4 separate regions of the Homo sapiens genome follow, and all the other regions are linked to region 3. Evidence: promoter capture Hi-C in 16 types of primary human blood cells and fetal thymus (Javierre and others, 2016). All regions are on one chromosome and are shown on one strand. The core of a region is centred on a gene start or on the middle of the fragment in contact, and the rest is flanking DNA. Distances in the headings are between cores, read along the strand shown.

Region 1 (2,700 bases), core at 41-2,540, 580 kb after region 3:
TACAGGATTTCTTCCAAGGTTAGGAAAACAGCCTCAAATTGATCGTGGTGATGGTTGCACAACTCTGTAAAGATATAAAACACAGGCCAGGCATGGTGGCTCATGCCTGTAATCCCAGCACTTTGGGAGGCTGAGCGGGTGGATCACTTGAGGCCAGGAGTTCAAGAACAGCCTGGGCAACATGGTGAAACCCCATTTCTACCAAAAATACAAAAAATTAGCCGAGTGCGGTGGCGGGTTCCTGTAATCTCAGCTACTCGGGAGGCTGAGGCAGGAGAATCACTTGGGCCTGGGAAGTGGAGGTTGCAGTGAGCCAAGATCGTACCATTGCATTCCAGCCTGGGTGACAGAGCGAGACTGTGTCTCAAAAAAAAAAAAAAAAAAAAAGGCCCGGCGCGGTGGTTCACACCTGTCATCCCAGCACTTTGGGTGGCCGAGGTGGGCAGATCACGAGGTCAGGAGATCGAGACCATCCTGGCTAACACGGTGAAACCCCGTCTCTACTAAAAATACAAAAAATTAGCCGGGCGTGGTGGCAGGCGCCTGTAGTCCCAGCTACTTGGGAGGCTGAGGCAGGAGAATGGCGTGAACCCGGGAGGCAGAGCTTGCAGTGAACAGAGATCGCACCACTGCACTCCAGCCTGGGCGACAGAGTGAGACTCTGTCTCAAAAAAAAAAAAAAAAACCCAACAACATTGAATTTGGATTCACTGCTTTAAATGGGTGAAGTGTACGGTGTGTGAACTATATCAAAATAAAGCTGTGACTAAAAAAAAGTTACTTCAAAATAGAAGAAAGACTCTTAGAATAAAGACTCCTGCACTCAGAGCCCCACCCTGTGTGTGAGACTAGACGTTTTCCAGGAGCGATGTTCCCTAAGCTGCATACAGGGGAGGGGGACCCACGCCAAGGTGTCAGGTGGCCAGGTCATTCCTGGCACCACTCCTTTTTCTAGGGGAACTTGGCCAAGTGTAACCTCAGCTTCTGTAAACTGGAAGCAATCATAGTACTACCTCGTGGGGGCTGCTACAAGGATGGCATGAGATGACCCGTATCCTCACTCTAAGCCTGACAGGTAGAGAGCTGTGGTCACTATGAGACCAGGTCATGCACCTCTGCCACCCAAGTGCCTGGGTTTCCCAAACTGCAAGCAAAATCTCAGTCCCAGGAACAGTGATACCCAAATCACAACAGCCTGGAGGACTGTGCCGCCTCCTCACAGTCACCTCCATGGCTTCAGGGAAATGCCAGAGACACCTCACCTGTGAACATGACAAGCCCATTTGCTTTCTTCCCTTTTCCTTCAGGTTGATAGTCCACAGCTCACAGCCCTCAGAGACGACCCTGGACCCTGCATGCTGGCAATTCCCCCCAGGGATGCTGCCCTGCACTGGGTCCTCCTGAGCTCCCGGGGTGCCCAGCTCTGGGGCTGCAGTGGGGGAGGATTCTGAGTCTCACACTGTCTAAGTGGTGCTGCTGGGCTGAATCTGTGGTCTTTGTATCACATGAGCTGCCGCATGGGCTACTGCCACCAGCTGCTTGGCCTTCAAGCATGAAGTCAATACAGGTGGGTGGGGAGGGGCAGAGGCGGAGGGTGGCAGATGACCCCAAGCCACTCCCTCCTTCCTCTTCAAATGCTTATTTCTGTCTTCACAGTGTTCTCATTCCCTACCCAACACACCCCGCAAACTCTCCACCTCCACCAGCCAAGCAACACGGGTCCTTGTGCTTGTCAATGCCTACGAAGAGCCGTGAACTCCCTGGTCCATAAAAGCGGTCCCATTTGGGCAGAGCCAAGATGCTCTGCTATACCCCAAAGGTGGCTGCAACTCCCTCAAGGGCAGGAATGGGGCCTTTCTTGTTTTGGTGTTCCCGACATCTAGCCCAGTTCCTGGAATGTCCCAGGTGCTGGCAGAAGTTTGCTGGAGGGCTCTTTGCAGAAGGCACAGAGGACCACATTCTGTTATCAGCAAGTCAAACCAATGTGGCTGGCCTGGGGACATTAGCTTCTGTCCCTTGATGGATGCTGGCCACCCTACCTTCCAAGACACTGCCCAAGAGAGGTCTCTTCTAAGGGAGTGGCAGGCACATGAAGAAGGAGAGACCTCCCCCGCCCCCGCAGGAAGCGCTCCTTCCCACACAGGCTTTCCTCCCTGCACATCTTCACGTCCAAAAGCCACAGAAATGGCTGCTCAGGGCTGGGCGTGGTGGCTCACTCCTGTAACCCCAGCACTTTGGGAGGCTGAGGCAGGCAGATCACCTGAGATCAGGAGTTCGATACCAGCCTGGCCAACATGGCGAAACCCTATCTCTACTGAAAGTACAAAAATGAGCCGTGCATTGTGGTGCATGTCTGTAATCCCAGCTACCAGGGAGGCTGAAGCAGGAGAATCATTTGAACCCGGGAGGCAGAGCTTGCAGTGAGCTGAGATTGCGCCACTGCACTCCAGCCTGGGCAACAGAGGGAGACTCTGTCTCAAAGAAAAAAAAAAGCCACAGAAATGGCTGCTCAATTTCTGTTGTTGTCATTATCAAAGTTTTAAGGCTTCCTTTATGATCCTGCAAAGCCCATTTCCCCTAGGCCGCCACATCCGTCCTCTGGCAACAATTCCCCTTGTGGTCCCTTCCTGTAATGAGAAGGTCTCTCTGACCGTTAGGCCTGAAGACAAACATCTTAGAATACATGTGGTTAGACAAACA
Region 2 (2,700 bases), core at 163-2,662, 590 kb after region 3:
ATTTATTTTAAATATATGAATAGGATGATTGTTTAAAGAGTTCCAGCTGGTTAAATTTAAGTTCCTGCAATAAAACTCTCCTCCGGCATTCTCTGGCTTCGGGCCTCGAAGGGCTACAGGCCCTCTGCTCTGAATTGTGAACTGCGATCTTGCGCGTTCAGGTTTTCCGGTAGTGGCTTTGCTGTTCTAAGTCAAGGCATCAGTGACTACCTTGACCTCAAGAGGACTTCTTCCACTATTTGAGCAACCTGCTTCTAGACCATTCTTGCCAGTTAGGAAAAGTTTTATTCAGTAAAATATTTTCAGTGAACCACTGGACAAAAACCAGGTGGCTGCTTTCCTTTGATCAGAGAAGTCCTCACTCCCTGTATGAGTCTGTTCTCACACTGCTATAAAGAAATACCTGAGACCAGATAACTTGAAAAGAGGTTTCATTGGCTCATGGTTCTGCAGGCTATACAGGAAGCATGAGGTTGGCATCTGCTCGGCTTCCAGGAGGCCTCAGGAAACCTACAATCATGGCAGAAGGTGAAGGGAGAGCGAACACCTCACACGGCCGGAGCAGAAGCGAGAGAGACAGCAGGGAGGTGCCACCCACTTTTAAATGAGCAGATCTCGCGAGAATGCACTCACTCTCACGAGAACAGCACCAAGAGGGAAATCCACCCCCATGATCCAACCACCTCCCACCAGGCCCCACCTCCAACACTGAGGATTATAATTCCACAGGAGATCTGGGAGGGACACAGATTCAAACCATATCTTTCCCCTTCTTCTTTGAATGTATTCGTTTCTTGACATCCACCTGCCAGGGGAGAATGGCCTTCAGGAGCTCGAAGCAGCCACAGGTGTCAAGTCGGGGCTTTCCCAGGCCTCCTTCAGCAGCTTCTCAGGTTCATTAACAAACATGGCCTGGCCTCCAGGTCAGTCTCCGTTAACGCCTCAAGGCTGCCTGGACTCTTCTCTGCCTCTGTTGCCCCTGCAAGGAAACATTCCCTCAGCTTCCAACATCCCCCTTTGTGCCAGGAGTCACCTGGGTCCTGTTAACACAAGGATGGACCAGGGAGGGTGCCCAGAGCTGACATGGGGTGACAAAGGGCACCAGGACTGCATGTCAGAGAGATCTGGGTAAGAAGCAGCTAGGTACCACATCCTACTTCTAACCCAGAGGGATGGAGCGGAGTAGGGCGAAGGCACCAGAGTGACAGAGAGGGTGTGAGAGTGAATCATGGGTGGGCCCCATTCCTCTCTGACAACCTGTGTTCAGAGAAGCGGGAGATGAATGGGACGGCTGGTTGTCTTCATGAAGTTTAGGAGTTAGGTGGAGAAAAACAGTCAGCAGCAGAACTTTACATATGGTTTAAGAATGGCTGCAATGGAAGATTTTTGTATTTGTTTTTGTTTTAGGTTTTTTATTTCTGTTTTTTTTTTTTTTTTTTTTTTTTTTTTGAGCCAGGATCTCACTCTGTCATCCAGGCTGGAGTGCAGTAGTGCCATCACGGCTCACTGCAGCTTCGACCTCCCAGGCTCAAGTGATCCTCCCGCCTCATCCTCCCGAGTAGCTGGGACTATGGGCATGTGCCACCACACCTGGCTAATTTTTTAATTATTATTTGTAGAGATAAGGTCTCATTATGTTGCCCACATTGGTCTCGAACTCCTGGGCTCGAGTCCTCCCACCTCAGCCTTCCAAAGCGTTGGGATTACAGACATGAGCCACTGCTCCTGGGATGGAAAATTTGTTAAGGGAGGAGGGGACAGGTGAGGAAAATTTGGTTGCAGTTCAAGTGAGAAGAGCCTTCACCGTAGAGCAAAGGAGAGTGGACTTAAGTATACAGGCAGTGGGGGAAAGGCGTGATGTTAGAAGTTTATTCGGACAGCAGCTTGTAGGATGTCTGGAGCCATGTACTCTGCTGTTCATGCTGTGATCACCCTGTTGAGCCTAAAAACATTGTATCAGCCAGGTTTCTGCTGAGTCCTACTGGATAACAAACTCCACAATCCCCGTGGCTTAGAGCAGCAATCATCTATATCGCACTCACAAATGTGCCTGCTGGCCAGAGCAGCTCTCCTTCAGGCCCTGGGTTGCATTTAGTTCTCTTCATGTGTCTCTCATTCTGAGGCCAGTGGCTACCTGGGGTATGTTCTTCCCATGGAGGAAAGCAGAAAGTGCAAGAGGGGTGGGTGGCAGCACTGACACTCTTTGGAACTGACATACTGTCACTCTGCCCACACTCCAATGGCCAAAGCATGTCGTATAGCCAAGCCCAACATCCATGGAGCAGAGAAATACACTCTGCCTACTCTAGTGGGAGACACTTTAGCGTCTTGCAGCAAAGGGCATGCACATAAGATTGGAAATAGATCGAAAGGCAACAGTTCATAAAATTCCTTTCAGCCATGATGCTTGGGGGAAGCAAAGACCCATAGAGAGATGCCAGCAGGGATGCTTGCACGCCCCAGACCAGGCAGCTCCAGGAAGTTCCTTTTCATACCTTTCTCTGGAATGCACAAAATGTCTAGGGTTGTTATCCAATAAAAATGCAACTCCTTTCTATCCTCTACTTCACTGTAAAAGTAGCTAATATTTACTAAGCAGTTACCATGTGCCAGCCACTACTCCAGTAATTAGCATAAATCATCTCCTTTAACCCTCACAAGTCTATTAGGTGGTTACTATTCTTTCTTTTTTTTTTTTTT
Region 3 (2,700 bases), core at 155-2,654:
CCCCCTTCATGGAATCGCCACATTATAAGTAATTCCATTTTTCCTCTTTAGAATTAATAGGACCCAAGAAGGATGCATGGGGCAGAGGACAACCCTGGGGTGGCCAGAGATGGAGGCAGGGTATCCGGAGTGGGGGCTTAGAGATGGAGAGATGAAGAGGCAGGGAGAGGCAAGACAGGGGCAGAGGCCGGCACTCAGGGCCAGGGCTCAGGAGCTGGGCAGATGCACAGACCCTGAGGAGGAGAACAGGATGATGGGTAGGTTATCAGAGTCCCTACCTTGTTGTGATTTTTATTAGATGGTGCTCCATGGCTCTCACACATTGTTTAAGCCAATCCTACGGGCTGGAGCCGGCAGACCTGGGAGGGCTGGTGCTTTGTGGGGTCTCCTGCTAGAGACACCAGAGGCAGGGTAGGGCAGAGAAAGCAGAGACTCCAGAAACAGTATCAGTCTTCCAAGGAGCCCCAAGTTCTCTGTGTCCCATTAGGGCCAGGCTGTCTGGCCAAGGCAGGCAGGCAGGTAGAAGAGGGCTTTGCCTCCAGGCAGTGGGGAGGCCCCACATTTAAAAAGCCAGTTTACCTGGAAGAAGGCAGGCGGTGAGTAAATTCAGAGTCCCTGCACCCAGCCTGCCCTCCCATCAGTCCACATACCAGGGTCTTGAGGCTCAGGGCCTGTCTGAGGCCTAGGGCTGCTGGCCAGAGGGGGCAGGCTCCAGCCTTCCCTGGCTCCAGCAGGGAGACTTCGCTCATTCTTCTCTTGGCCTTTTCTTCCTACCTGGGCCAGGGACTCCCTGAGCCGTGGTGCCAGGGCCACCCAAGGCTGGGGAGGATGGGGAAGGGGGCGGCAAGCCCTCTTCTTGCAGGAGTCCCCGCTGAGCTCCCTTCACCAGGGGCTAGGTGAAGGGAGCGAGGCCAACCAGAAGCCCTAGTGGAGAGCCCATCCAGGGCAGGGGTTCCAAGGAGGACAAAAAAGCCGGTTAGTGAAGGTGCGCTCTGCGCCAGGGACTGTGCCGGCAGACACAGGCACTACTGACACCGCCCCCAGCCCTTCGGAGGAGTCCTCGGCTCCTCATCTCCAGCTCCAGCCCCTTTCCAGCCGGCTGGTGGGCGGCTGGGAGTGGGGACACTGGATCGGAGGGGACCCTTCACGGGAGTACTCGCTGCCCTCACTCGTCTCGGAACGCGGCTGGACCCGGAGTCCCCGACCGCAGCCCGCGCACGACCCCCGGGAGCCTGTCTCCGCGGCCGCCGACCCACGTCCGCGCTGCCGCCCCACTGCCAGGTGGCCCGAGAGATGCAGGAGGAAGGAGGGGCGCGCGGGGCGGGCGGAGGAGGGTGGAGCCGCCGGCGCGCCCCCTCCCTCGGGCCGGCAGGCGGGCGGCGCGGCGGGCTCGGCGCGGCGGCAGAGGAGGCGGCGGGCGCTGGGAGACACCGGACGCCCGCTCGGCTGCGCTGCGGCTCAGGCCCCCGCTCGGGCCCGACCCGCTCGGTCACCGCCGGCTCGGGCGCGCACCTGCCGGGTAAGTGGCGCCCGAGTCCCTGCCGCTGAGGCCACCACCGCGGCCACTTCCGTCGCCGCCGCCGCCACTGCGCGGAGCCTCCCGGCTTTGTCTGCGTCCTCTCGGCTGCGGCTCCGGCTGCGGCTGCGGCTGCGGCTCCCGGGCTCGGCTCTCGGGCTCCGCGGACTGCGCCGCACGGCGCCGGGGCTCGGGGGTCGCCAGCCAGCTCGCTCCCCGCCGGGGGTGAAACTTCGCCCAAGTTTGGGTTCTGGGGAGAACCTGTTGAAGCCAGGAGTGGCTCGGGGCGGGGACAGAGATGGTGGGAGTGGGGGGAGGGAACCCGTCTCGGGTTCTCCATCAGGGCCGTCCAGTGGGTGGGTTGTGTGTCCGCCACCCTGGGGCGTTGGCGCGCGCCCCTAGGGAAGGGGCGAGTGGGCCGTCGGGCCACCGAGCAGAAGGAGCCAGGGAGCGGGGTTGGCGTGGTCGATCCCGCGGACTTCCGCGAGGACAAAGTTTGGTTCTTTGGCCGCTTTGCGGAGCGTCTGTCTGGGTCCAGCGCGGAGAGCTGAAAGTGTCGCATAGACGCGCCCCTGACCGCACCTCCTCACTCCAGCCTCCGCTTCTTCCCCCACTCCACCCGGCCTTGGCTGGGGCAGGTCGTGGAAGAGAAAGGCGAAGGGGAAGAGGGACGACCTTTCAATGAAGGCCCACTACGTGCCAGGCCCCTTGCCTGGCGCCTCTTGCTTCCAATAAGAGCCCTCCCAACCCTGCGGCCCTCAAGTGTGTGCAGGGAGGGGACAGGGGGGAAGACTCCACTGTGCACCCGGGGGTGGTGGCCCCGCCGAACCCTCATAGTCCCTGGTTTCCGCAGTGAATGAGGCCCGCGGCTGGGGCCTCTGCACCCAGGCCTGTGTCCCTCCTCGCGGTGACCCTGAGCCCCATCCGGCTGCGGCGCCTCCTGAGCCTGCTTCCGCCCTTCCCGCAGCTGCGGCCCCAGGGCCATGCGGAGGCCCACGAGGAGGCCGGCGGCCACGCGCATCCCGTAGCCCAGGTGGCCCAGGTCTGCACCGCGGCGGCCTCGGCGCCATGGAGCCCCCGTATTCGCTGACGGCGCACTACGATGAGTTCCAAGAGGTCAAGTACGTGAGCCGCTGCGGCGCGGGGGGCGCGCGCGGGGCCTCCCTGCCCCCGGGCTTCCCGTT
Region 4 (2,700 bases), core at 60-2,559, 620 kb after region 3:
GGCGTCTGCCACTATGCCCAGCATTTTTGTATTTTAGTAGAGATGGGGTTTCACCGTGTTGGCCAGGCTGGTCTCGAACTCCTGACCTTAAGTGATCCACCGGTCTCCACCTCCCAAAGGGCTGGGATTACAGGCGTGAGCCACTGCGCCTGGCCAAAATTTGAATAAATAAAAGATCATGACAGCATAATAGAGACTTGTAATACTCAATCGTTCAGAAGTAAATTTTCCTTTTTTTTTTTTTTTTTGATCTTCTCTGTTTTATAAAATTAAAATCAGGTGAACGAACTATATTAAGATTCTAGTGATTTTGTCCACATGTATTATGGGATCAGTGCCTTGGCAATTTCTTGAAATTGAGAGCCCAACACCACCCAAAGGACACAATTGTAGATGCTGAGGAAAACAAAGAAAAGAAAATGACAAAAAGAAATGAAAAGAGAACTCGGGAGGTTGAGGAAGGAGAATCGCTTGAACTCAGGAGGCAGAGGTTGCAGTGAGCCGAGGTCTGCACCACTGCACTCCAGCTTGGGTGACAGAGTGCGACCTCATCTCAATGAAAAGAATAACGAAATGAAAAGAGAAAAACAGAATGATCCAATCTTTTGCTTATGGTCGAAGTTCTTAAAAATCTATTATATCTATGGATCAGTTTGATACTAGCTAAAAATTCGGACGTTAGGGCAACGCCTCCTCAAATTCTGATTCAATACTGCTGGACTTCAAAAATAAAGTCCCCTAAAGTGATTGTCACGTGGGTGGCTCTCAGACAGCATTTTGAGAATAACTACTGTAATGATTAAACCTTGGGGAAAAAATCTTGAAGAGTCATTTGCCTAATTTCTGGCCACTTTCTCATCAGGAGGAAAAAAAATGAAACCAGAAAGAACGCTTCCATTATTATATTCTTGAATTTCTTAATCATTTCTGGGTATCTTGTTCCTTGACTGATCTTTAATTGCAATTCCAAGGCAAAAATAAACACAGTCCTTTCTACTTTGCTATCTAGCATGTAGAATAACTTTTTATCAAAAACAGAATTCGGCTTCTAACTTCACAACTCCTTTGCCCATTCTTTAATTGGGTTGTCTTTTTATTACTGAATTTAAAGAGTTCTTTAATATTCTAGATTCCAGTCCCTTATCAGATATATAATTTTCAAATATTTTCTCCCATCAGTGGGTTGTCTTTGCCTCTCTTGTTGGTATCATGAATGCTTTTAATTTGATAAAGTCCAATTTACCTATTTTTTCTTTGGTTGCTTGTGCTTTTGGTATCATACCTAAGAAGCCACTCCCAAATCCAAGGTGGCAAAGATTTACCTCTATGGTTTTTTTTTTCCTAAGAATTTGTTTTAGGCCAGGTGTGGTGGTTCACGCCTGTGATCCCAGCACTTTGGGAGGCCGAGGTGGGTGGATCACCTAGGTCAGGAGTTCGAGACTGGCCTGGCCAACATGGTGAAACTCCGTCTCTACTAAAAATACAAAAATTAGCTGGGCATCGTGGTGGGCACCTGTAATCCCAGCTACTCAGGAGGCTGAGGCAGGAGAATCACTTGAACCCGGGAGGCAGAGGTTGCAGTGAGTCAAGATGGCACCATTGCACTCCAGCCTGGGTGACAGAGTGAGATGCCGTCTCAAAAAAAAAAAAAAAATTTGTTTTAGCTTACATTTCAGTCTATGATAGCTCTTACAGTTAGCTCTTTGAGCTAATTTTTGTAGACGTATGAGGTAGGTATACAACTTTATTATTATGATTATATTTTGCATGTAGATATCCAGTTGTCCCAGAGCCATCTGTTGAAAAAAAAAAAACAATTCTTTCCCTCACTGTTTTGGAACCCTTATCAAAAATCAATGAACTGTCAATGTGAGGGTTGATTTCTGGGATCTTCTGTTCTATTCCACTGATCTTTATGTCCAACCTTATGCCACTACCGCAATTTTGCTTACTGTTGCTTTTTAGTAAGTTTTGAAATCAGGAAGTGTGAGTCCTCCAACTGTCTTCTTTTTCAGGATTGTTTTGGCTGTTTGCTTGTTTGATTGCTATTGGTAACTCTGGAGACCTTGAGTTTCCACATGCATTTTAGGGGCAGCTTGTCCATTTCTGCAAAGAACCCAGGCAGAATTCTGACGGAGATTGCACTGAATCTGTAGATCAGTTTGGGGAGTCTTTCCGTTTTAACAATATTTAGGTATTTTGATCTATCAACATAAGGTGTCTTTCCATTTATTTAAATCTTTTAAATGTCCACAATATTTTGTAGTTTTAAGAGCATACATTTTACACTTCTGTTTTTAAATTTATTCCTAGGCTTTTTATTTTTTATTTTTTTATTTTTTTGAGATGGAGTCTCACTCTGTCACCCAGGCTGGAGTGCAGTGACACGATCTTGGCTCACTGCAACCTTTGTCTCCCAGGTTCAAGCGATTCTCCTGCCTCAGCCTCCCGAGTAGCTGGGATTACAGGCACCGACGACCACTCCCAGCTAATTTTTGTATTTTTAGTAGAGACAGGGTTTCACCATGTTGGCCAGGCTGGTCTCAGCATTTTATTTTTTCTTGCTATAAATGAAATCACTTGCATAATTTCATTTTCAGATTTCAGATCACAGGTGTATAGAAATACAACTGATTTTGTATATTGATCCTGCAACTTTGTATCCTATAACCTTGCTGAGCATGTTTAGTAGTTCTAAGA

Evidence for each region. The method cuts DNA at HindIII sites, captures the fragments that hold promoters and counts their contacts. A CHiCAGO score of 5 or more calls a contact.
Region 1: a fragment that was not itself captured here is called in contact with the fragment with the promoter of ECEL1 in region 3 in 2 of 17 cell types (M1 macrophages and M0 macrophages); the score reaches 7.1 in M1 macrophages.
Region 2: a contact is called between a fragment that was not itself captured here and the fragment with the promoter of ECEL1 in region 3, in 16 of 17 cell types (endothelial precursors, M0 macrophages, M1 macrophages and 13 more). The highest score is 18.0, in endothelial precursors.
Region 4: a fragment that was not itself captured here is called in contact with the fragment with the promoter of ECEL1 in region 3 in 3 of 17 cell types (endothelial precursors, naive CD8 T cells and M2 macrophages); the score reaches 7.0 in endothelial precursors.

Annotation. Positions count from the first base shown.
Region 1 is chr2:231,909,791-231,912,490 of GRCh38, reverse strand. No RefSeq gene overlaps it. Among named protein-coding and RNA genes, the nearest start is that of NPPC, 15 kb to the left of the region's middle. The HindIII fragment of the contact is 6,149 bases long and covers 1-2,700 here.
Region 2 is chr2:231,893,070-231,895,769 of GRCh38, reverse strand. No RefSeq gene overlaps it. Among named protein-coding and RNA genes, the nearest start is that of MIR1471, 2.1 kb to the right of the region's middle. The HindIII fragment of the contact is 3,788 bases long and covers 1-2,700 here.
Region 3 is chr2:232,486,538-232,489,237 of GRCh38, reverse strand. ECEL1 (endothelin converting enzyme like 1) reads left to right here and starts at 1,404. Exons shown (of 18, transcript NM_004826.4): 1 at 1,404-1,519; 2 at 2,484-2,700. The coding sequence starts at 2,585. LOC124906124 (a long non-coding RNA gene) reads right to left here and starts at 1,295. Exons shown (of 3, transcript XR_007088123.1): 1 at 279-1,295. The HindIII fragment of the contact is 9,213 bases long and covers 1-2,700 here.
Region 4 is chr2:231,865,909-231,868,608 of GRCh38, reverse strand. No RefSeq gene overlaps it. Among named protein-coding and RNA genes, the nearest start is that of MIR1471, 25 kb to the left of the region's middle. The HindIII fragment of the contact is 2,901 bases long and covers 1-2,700 here.